Regions from separate parts of the Homo sapiens genome. Here region 2 is linked to region 1. Evidence: promoter capture Hi-C in human tissues and cell types (Jung and others, 2019). All regions are on one chromosome and are shown on one strand. The core of a region is centred on a gene start or on the middle of the fragment in contact, and the rest is flanking DNA. Distances in the headings are between cores, read along the strand shown. Region 1 holds the start of SLIT3 (slit guidance ligand 3). Region 2 overlaps SLIT3 (slit guidance ligand 3).

Evidence for each region. Contacts are between HindIII fragments. The study calls those that stand out against the background at their distance.
Region 2: a contact is called between a fragment that was not itself captured here and the fragment with the promoter of SLIT3 in region 1, in 2 of the 25 tissues and cell types used here (mesendoderm cells and thymus).

What each region holds. Positions count from the first base shown.
Region 1 is chr5:169,298,649-169,303,479 of GRCh38, forward strand. SLIT3 (slit guidance ligand 3) reads right to left here and starts at 2,491. Exons shown (of 36, transcript NM_003062.4): 1 at 1,865-2,491. The coding sequence starts at 2,061. The HindIII fragment of the contact is 12,348 bases long and covers 1-4,831 here.
Region 2 is chr5:168,734,501-168,739,331 of GRCh38, forward strand. The region is part of intron 20 of SLIT3 (slit guidance ligand 3); the gene reads right to left. Among named protein-coding and RNA genes, the nearest start is that of SLIT3-AS2, 30 kb to the left of the region's middle. The HindIII fragment of the contact is 5,291 bases long and covers 1-4,765 here.

The DNA.
Region 1 (4,831 bases), core at 1,241-3,740:
TGTTTATAGATCGTGGCCCAAACTGACCCTTGTTCCAAGGATGACCAGGAGAGTGATAACGGTTGTGGGCTTAGGAACCAGTCAGGCTTGGATCCAAACACTTCACTAGCTGCACGACCTTGAGTAAATGACAAGATGGCTTAACTGTGAAAGGGAGTAATAAGCATTGCCTATGTAACTAACAGGACTGTTGGAGTGATTCAATGAGATAATACATATACACAAATCAAGGCATGAAAAGCATTTATCAAACATTAGCTATAATTATTATTTCACTAACTCATGTGGCTAGCACTGGTGTGACGAGGAGGGGAACTTAGTTTACAAGTTATAGGTATCTAAAAATACCACTAAAACAAGTTTTTCACTCCTATGGACTAACTTAATGTCTGAATTAAGGTGTGAAAACCTGGATTCTAGCCCCTTTATTGCCGTCAACTTGCTGTGTTTTCTTGGGCAAGTCATTTTACACTTCCAAGCCTGGTTTTCGACATGTGTTAATAAAGATTCGGCTCTCACCCTTTAGGATTCTGTGGTTCAACCCAACAAAACAATCACTGCACTTGTGGAAAAACAAAAAAGTACTGAGCCAAAGGAAAAAGAGAGCACCAGGAATAAGGAAGACAGTTCTGCTGAGTCTCCACCCAGAGATGCACAAAGAAGTGGAAGAGAAGAGGAGGTGGGGTGATAGGAGGTGACTAGCAGGAATAACACACTCTAGGACAATGCTTGTCATCACTACTCTCTTCCAGCCTGAAGTCAAGAAAGCAGAGTGGAAGATCCAGGCGCCTACCCCTAAGGCACATGAGGAAGGGGAGAAGAGGGAGAGCAAGACACGGAGGGAATCTACCACACTAGAGCAAACCCTCACCCACTTCTCGGCTGGGTTCCCAGTAAGGCTTCCCACCCACTCCAGCGTTTCTCCCCCACTCCCTTACCCCACCCCAACTGCGGACTAAGAGGAGCCCACCCCGGAGTCCAAGTTTTGAATCTGGTCCGAGGATCAAAATGATAAATGTTTCCAAAACGTTGACATATGAAAAGTAAATATTTGGTTGCACAATTGGGGCTAAAACTAGGGTCAATCCACCCCATTCTCCAAGCGCCTCTCCATTCGCTGCCAAGCCCAGGATCTGAGGCTGAGTGCGGTTTGTAAGATTATAACGCTCGGTCTCATTTGAAGGGCTGTCAGCATTTCCATTCTCCGGCCCCTTCGTTCGGGGAGGCATTTATAACCGAGCCATAAAAAATTCACCCGGGGCTGCAACTTGGCATCTCCCAGACTGCGCTCCAGGCAGAGCGGGTTTTGCGAGCACCCACTCTGAATCTGTCCAGTTCCTCAGAAGTTAAACCTTCACCCACACTCTCAACTTTCCTTGCAAGGGCAGCCAGAGAGCGGCTGGCCCATTCTGATCTCCAAGCAGGTCAACAGTCTCGGGCCCTCTCTCCCGCCTCCGCGCCTTGACGGCCCATCATCCTATAGCTTTCTCCTTCGCCCGCCCCCCTTTTTAACGAGCGCAGACCCCTGACCCTCACCCTAAGACCTTGAGGCTGCAGTGCTCTTGCCTCCCCTCGCCTCTCCTCAGCTACTCCTTGGAAGCTGTCAGCGGGCCCTGCGTCTGGAACCCTCACCCCTGGAGAGGCACTGCTCTTTGCCCATCGCTGGGGGTTTCGAGACCTCTCTTTCCAGATCTGACCAAGCCTACAGACCCCCAGCTCGGAGAGTGAGGGATCGTATCCAGGAAGGGATGAGAATAGAGACTGCATCCAGGGAGGCCGAGGGGAAAGGACGGATCTGGCGCCTGGGGCCCCCTCGGTGGGACCCAGGTGGGTGGCCCGCGTGGGGTGGGGCAGGGGTACTCACAGGCGCTCAGCGTTGCGGGGGATGCCCCGAGGAACCGCGCGGAGGCCCAGCCCGTGGCAGTCCACGCTGGCAGCGGAGCAGGTACACTTGGTGGGGCAGGCGACGGCTGGAGGCCCACTCAGGACGCTCGCCAGCGCCAAGGCCAGCGCCAGGCGGGCGCGCACGGCGGCGCCGACCCCTGCCCACCCGGGGGCCATGGTGTGCAGGGCCCCGCTCCTGGAGGAGGCTGCCTCTGCGGGGCAAGACGCGTGGAGCCCGAGGAGGCGCGCGGGGAGCGCGGGCGGCCTGGGGAGCGGGCGGCGGAGTTAGCGCGGAGGAGGGGCGAGCTCGGTGCTCAGGCGCACGGGGCGCGGGCGGAGCGGGGCGCTCCGGGCGGCGGCGGCGGCAGCAACAGCAGCTCCATCGGCGGGGCCGGCGCTGCCCCGCTGCGCATCGCTGGGAGTGCCCAGGTGCGGAGCGCCCCCTGGCCCCGCTGGCCCGCGGGCCGGGTTGGGGACCTGGGGCGAGCGCAATGGGGCGTGGCGCCCGGGGAGGTCCGGCTTGGGGCTGGGCTGGGGAGCGCGGCGGCTGCGGCTGGGGCACGGGGCGGCCGGGTGAGCTGGCCGGCGCTCGCTCTCTCCATTCAGTGAGCACGGCAGACACCGGAGACGCGGGGCCCACCCCTCCGGCCCCCCCCCGACCAAGAAACGCCAACTCCGCCTCCCATTGGCTGCGCCGCGCGTCATGTCGACTAAGTTGGGAACTTTGCTGGAGCGACCGAGAGCCTGGAGGGAGGAGGCAGTAGAGGAGGGAGAGAGAAGGAACCAGGGAAGGAAAGGGGCTCGGCCAGCAGGGCCCCTGGAAAGAAACACTGAAACTCATTCACTGTTAAGATCCAAGGACGGATAAGGCTCCTGACACTTTTTTTTTTTTAATTTTTGCACTGAGCTGAGCACTCTACTCATATTCTTTACTTAAGTCCACGATCTTCCAAGGGGTCGTCTGAAAACAGCTCAGAGAAGTGAAGCGACTTGCTGGAGGTCGCACAGCTGCTAGGGACGCCAAACCATGGCAGTGTCGCCCACGAAGCCGCTTCCCTACCGCACCTAGTACTCATGGCAGAGATCCACAATTTTGCCTGAAGAGCCTTGGTTGACACCAATGTACTCCACAGCTACACACACACACACACCGTGGTCCATGTTGTTGAGGTCACTGCTGGCAAACCTTACCCGGAAACTTGCCCTGCTTTGCCCAGACCCAGCGCTTGGTGGACTGGTAAAAGTAGTGATGGCAGCGACTTGGACCCCTGGATTGACAATGCCTTGTTCCATCCTCGGGTTTCTGCTTCCTGACTGGGTGACTCTGGGCCAATCGTGTCATCTCTGAGCCTTCGTTTTCTCAAATCCGGGGCCACAGTCCTACCTGGCCTCACCTCCCTGGGTTGTTTGGAGCATCACAGAAGAGAACGTGTTTTTGCAAAAGTCATTCGCAGACGAGGCATCCCTTCTGTCCCCAGCGCCTTCTTTCTTCCAGCGCCCGCTTTAAATTGGCTAGGTCTGAGCTTTTCCAGATGCCAGTGGGGAGGGGCGTGTGCGTTAGAGGCTCCATAAATACTTGTAGGAATGATTTTGTTTGTTTGTTTGAAAGGAAAGGGCAGGAACTGGAGGAAGTATTGCCCAGATTTCCTTGAGGTCCCCTCACACTGAGAAGGCCTGAATGAGCCCTGCATATATATACACACACACTGGTGCCTACGTATTCACAGCCACGCACACACTCTCACATACTCAGGCTCACACACACCCATTTATACACCGGCAATCACACACACGTGTACATGCATGCTCGCACACACACTCACATAGTGACAACTATACTCCTGAGAGCGCTTCTCTTTTCTTTCATAAGAATACTATTCTGATTTCTTCTACCTCATTTTCCTTCAAGGAAACTTTCAACTACTTGACCACATCCTGTGAATATATAGTAGAGTTGTAGATTTTATTGTATTATACTTAGCAGATTTTCAAAGTCTTAGCTTTGGGCACCCACTTGCGCGCGCGTACACACAAACACACACATACGCACACTCACTCAAACACACACACTCGAGTCCCTTCATCATTCATAAACACATTAGGTGCAATTTACTGCTGTTATTCTTGGGAACGGCTTTCTGTACAGATGCTGTTGTTATCGCCCCCTGGTGGCTGGCGAGGGTCTATGCTCCGGTCTTCAGGGTGACTTCGGTATTTAAGAACTCTAAACATCCTTTTATCCCTTTGCTCTGAAGCTTTCCTCCAAACCTTGAACCAATTTAGTACCAGGACTGAGGCAGATGAGAGAACCGGGCAAGGGCCCAAGGGCACAAAGCGTCTCAGACTGTCTGGAGCAGAAAACAGTACGGTTTTCTTTGTTTTCCCAAATGCATGCTAGAGCATGTTTTGCAATCCCTTCGGGCTGGTCCTGGATCTGTGCTCTGAGCGCAGTGGGGGACTGCGTTTTCCATTTAAGCTGCTCAGGGGGGTTTCATGAGCCAGACTGTATCTTTAAGGGACTTTATAGGCATTCAAGTGTGACTTTTCCTGGGAGAAGCCCCTTAGAACAGATGGTGAGGATTTCCTTCAGAGTCAATCATCCCCAAGGAGGAGGCAAGTGGGAAATACAGGAGGGGCCCAGAACACCAGGATACACAGAATCATGGAGTGTTTGGGCTGGTACAGCCTTAGAAATCACCTAATCCAACATTTCTACAAGTGCCTTCTGATGACTACTGATTCCACATGTTTCATCATGGAGGAGAAAAAAGTCTCCTTGGGCAAAGACAGATTGAGAAATGCTACTCACCTTCACCCCTCTTGGAGAATTGCATCACAGATGAGTGTTTTTAAGTTCCTGAGAAGTCCTGCAGTAAGGAAACCTGTTTAAGGCTTATTTAACCCAGTTTCTCAGTATAGAGGACCACTTTTCATGTAAACTGCAAAT
Region 2 (4,831 bases), core at 870-3,369, 560 kb before region 1:
CATTAGTTTTTCAATATCAGTTCCCACACCTACCAATGATATTACAGGTGTTCCATGTGCTGGTGATATTACAGAATGTTCCATGTGCTGGTGAAAAGAATGTATATTCTGTAGTTGTTGGGTAGAATCTCTGTAAATGTCTATTAAGTGCTTTTGGCCTAAAGTTATATAAGACAGCCAAAGCATTGGCTGTCTTTTCATCACAGCATTTGACCCCCATGGTGACATCTTTCGTGTGATTCTGTGATTAATGTGGGCAGAATCATGTCTGCTTGGCTCACCACAGCATTCTCGCACTCTGCCTGGCAACAGCAGATGCTCAGGAAACGTCATCTGTGTGATGAAAACCCCTGAACTCCTCAGGGAGAGCTGCGTTTGGCATGATGGAGCCAAGCACAAGTTGCTTTCAGTGCAGAATGTCCCCGGCGACCTGGCAGCACAGCTCAGAAGACTCAGAATCAAAGCTTTCACATCAGAAATGCAGATGCAGTGGTGGGGAGAGCTCTCTTTGTAGCAGGCCCTTCATGAAAACTCTGAACTCCAAAGTTGTCTGTAGCCTACAGTCCAGGCTCCCAGAGGGACCCTTTCAGGAGACTGCCCTCTTGCCCCACCAGCCTTAGAACTGCCGGAGTGTTTCTGGCAGGTCACCCTTTGCATTTGGCCTGCATTTAAATGCTCTGTTTCAGCCCCAGTGCAAACACACAAGGACACATCTGCCTTGCATGAAACTCCACACAGATCTCTGTGAATGGGTGTTCCCCATTCCTGTTTGGAGCTTTGGGGTGCTGACTGATGCCCCACAAAGAACTCAAACCAGCTGATGTTAATGGAGAGGGAGGGAAGCCACCTTCCCAGAGACTCTGCTCCAGGCCAGAATTTCCACTAGAGTCCTGGAGTGATGTGGGGGCAGCTCAGGGGTCAGGCAGCTGAGGCTCACATCCTGGCTCTACTATCTAAGAGCTGTGTGACCCTGGGTGAAGTACTTAACCTCTTTGAGCTTACATTTAGTCACCTGTAAAACAAAGCTTATAATGATCACCACCTTGATGTGATTCTGAGGATTAAATTTGAGTCTCTGTGAACAGTTCTCAGAGCAGTACCCGGCACACTGGTGGCCAACACATTTTAAATATACATACACATACATATAGACAGATAGATACACACACACACACACACACACACACACACACACACACACACACATCTCCATCCAATAATACACATAGCTTATTGAAAGATAATGTTCCTCTTGCTGTTCATTCTCTTCTTCTTCCTCCAGGGTAGTATTTCTAAAATGAGAATTGGATCATGCCACTTAAAATTCTTCCTGGATTCCTGCATTTCTCTTGGAGTCAGCTCTCCCTATACCTACAAGAACTTACATATCCCTTCTCAAGCTTTCAGCACACATCACCCTCTTTGTCATCCTATTTGCTCCATCTCACAGCCTTCTTGGTTTCTTGAATTTAAGATCTTTCCACCTTGAGGTCTTCATAAAACATGTTCTTTCTACTCTGTTTCCCTCCTTTACTTTCCTGGGAAATCCCCCTCTACTCCTGGTGTGAAATGCCTGATCTGGTCGGTTTTCTTACTGTCTTTCTCCCCTACTCTCAGTTTCTGAGAAAAGGGATCTTATCTGTCATGGTAGCCACTGTACCTTCAGCTGCTACCACAGTGTGTGGCACAATGAACTCAATGAATGGAAGGGAGCCTTCTCAGCTCTCGGCCTGTGCTCAGGCCACCCACAGCCCCTCCCATAGATGGCTGTCACTGTCCAATAGTGTGGAGAAGTGTCCTCTACTGGTGCCATCTGCTGAGGTCTTCTCTGGGCCAGAGCCTGTGCCAGGACTCATAAGTGCTGCTGTGCCCAGAGCTGGTCCACTCTCCAAAGATGTGATCAACCCCTCCAGCTGGCTGGAGGCACATTTCAGTCTCTCTCCCTGGGCCAGAGAATGTCAAGGATGTAGTCAGTGCTGGGCAGTTGTTCTATTAAGTGCTCTGGGGAGCATGGGGGATATGAAAAGCAGCAGGCTCTTCTCGGGCAGCAGCTTGCCTTGCTAGAGAAGGCCCAGCTGTCAGGATGGACATAGCCAGAACCACTGACAGGTACCTATAGCCTCATGGCAGGCTGCCTGGGCTTGCCTCCTCCCTGCTGCAATGCAGAGTGCCTGGGCTTGCCTCCTCCCTGCTGCAATGCAGAGTGCCTGGGCTTGCCTCCTCCCTGCTGCAATGCAGATGTCAGTTTTCAAGAGGACCCATGTAAGCCCCCAGCAAGCCAGGCCACTGGGCAGAACACATAGGGACCTGGGTTTCTGCCACAGGGAGGACTTGGGGTCAGATGGACCTGGGCTTGAGTCTATAGTCTGCTGCTTATTGGCAGTGTGATCGTCAAAAATTATTCAACCTTCAGTAGCTCCGGTTATCTCACCTGCAAAATGGGAATAATGACACTTGCCTTGAAGAGTTGTTAGCAGGGTGAAATGAGATTACCTATTAAGAAAACCCAGCACAGCACTTGGTACACAGTAAATGCTCTAGAAATGGTGGCTGTGGTGGTTTGTAGCATAGGCAGGACATTCTTGCTTGCTTTCTTAAAGGCCAGGTGGGCAGAATTTCCTGGATTCCTCTCTTCCCAGAGCACATATTGCCTGAGCCACTCCCTTGTGCTTGTCATCTGCTGCGTCGCACTCCCCCTTCTCCTGCCTGCATGTCTCCCCCAATAAAACTATGGATGAGGACCAAGTGCCACTGAGCTTTCTGGACCCCAGACCTCCATCCCCTAACTCCTTGGAACCCACACAGTGCCAGGCCAGGTCCTTCTTGCTTCTTCAACCAGTGCATTCTTGTCATCACCTCTTGCCACACTCACTCTCAGAGAGTTGCATCTCAGCCCTGTGCCCTCCTACCTCCTGGTTGAGCCCCATCCTTTTCCTGTCTCCTGTCAGTGCTGTGCACACACACACACACATGCACATGCATATGCACACTGCCAGCCTGCTTCCCACAGTGTTCTCAGACCCCGCATCCTAATACAAATCCTTTCTTCCAATAGTTGTGCCTGGAGCTATGTCATCCTTCCCCCCTCTTTTCCTTGGGATATCAAGTTATAGGACAACAAATCCATGCTCATTGTCCTTAGACCAAAAATATATGTCTAAACATCATGGATATTAACCAGGGGTAGATATGGGGGAAAGCTGTTCACCAGCACTGGATTCTGCATTTCTTCTCTAACCGTTATGAAGATGTAGGCTTTGCAGAGTTTGTTTCCAGAACCAGGAAACCTGATGTTTGTAAACATTTCCATAAATGGAAGCAAGCAGATTTTTAGGTTTCAGTTCTAAAATAGTGAGGTAAGCATGAATTTAAAAGGACAGTTGCATGGCAATAATTGTACTTTCTGAAGGCAGTGAGGCCCTACCTTCACAGAGAGTATTCTGGTGACTTTGAGGGCTGAGATGTCCTGTATTTGCTTCTGTCCTGCTTTCCATAAGATTCTGTAAGCTTGCCTTTTAAATTAGGAACTTCGTGCTGACTTAGAGCAGTTATCTCTCTCTATCCATTGCCCACCAATATGTAATGACCAGAGTGGTTCTCAAAGTGTCATCCATAGACCCCGGGGGTCCCTGAGGCTTTTTCAGGGGTCTATGAGGCCAAAACTATATTTACAATAAGGTTAAAATGTTATTTTCCTTTTGCCCTGTGTTGACATTTGCACTGATGGTACAAAATTAGTGGAGGGTAAAACTGCTGGCACCTCAGCATGAATCAGGACATCGCTACCAAATGAAACTGGTGGTCACTGTATTCTTCACCTCTGTGCACTTGCAGGTTTTACCAAAACCAGGAATGCCCTTGATGAAGTACCAAGAATTATTGTTTGTATTAACATTCAACTCTTGAGCACACATTCCTTTAATGTCCCGTATGACAAAATGGGAGATGTACACACACAGCATGTTGGTTGTCTAGAGAAAAGTACCTGTGTAATTGAGTTGCAAGCTGAACTAGCTGGCTTTTACATTTTTTCATGGAACACTGTTTTTACCTAAAAGAAAGACTGGCAAACTCATTATTCAGACATGGCTATTTAGTAGATAATTTCTTGAAAATGAACAAAGTAAGCCCATCACTTTAAAAAAAGCAACTCACAGGCTGGGCACGGTGGCTCATGCCTGTAATCCCAGCACTTTGGGAGGCCGAGGCAGGTGGATCACAAGGTCAGGAGATCGAGACCATCCTGGCTAATACGGTGAAACCCCGTCTCTACTAAAAATACAAAAAATTAGCCGGGCGCGGTGGCGGGCGCCTGTAGTCCCAGCTGCTGGGGAGGTTGAGGCAGGAGAATGGCGTGAACCCAGGAGGCGGGGCTTGCAGTGAGCCGAGATGGCGCCACTGCAGTCTGGCCTGGGTGAAAGAGCAAGACTCCATCTCAAAAAAAAAAAAAAAAAAAAGCAGCTCACAGTATTTGTTGCCAATGATAAATTCGTGCTTCCAAGTAAAAATTAAAATTTTGGAAAACTTTTCACTGCCACATTGAGCTTAACAACTTTCCCTCACTTAAAGACTTTTCTGATGAGATCAGCGGTGATATCAAAGGACATTATTTAAAAAATATATTGTATAATGAAATGTGTTAGCATTTGGAAGATCTGCATAACTCAGTGAACCGATATTTTTCCATTGACCAACACATGATATTACAAGATCGTGCATGGGGAAAGTTCCATTCAAAGCGTAAGACAGATCGGTAGAGTTATGTAACAGAGGACCAAAGGTTCACTGGTACAAGTGCAGTTCCACACTACAACTAGCCTTTAAGAAAATG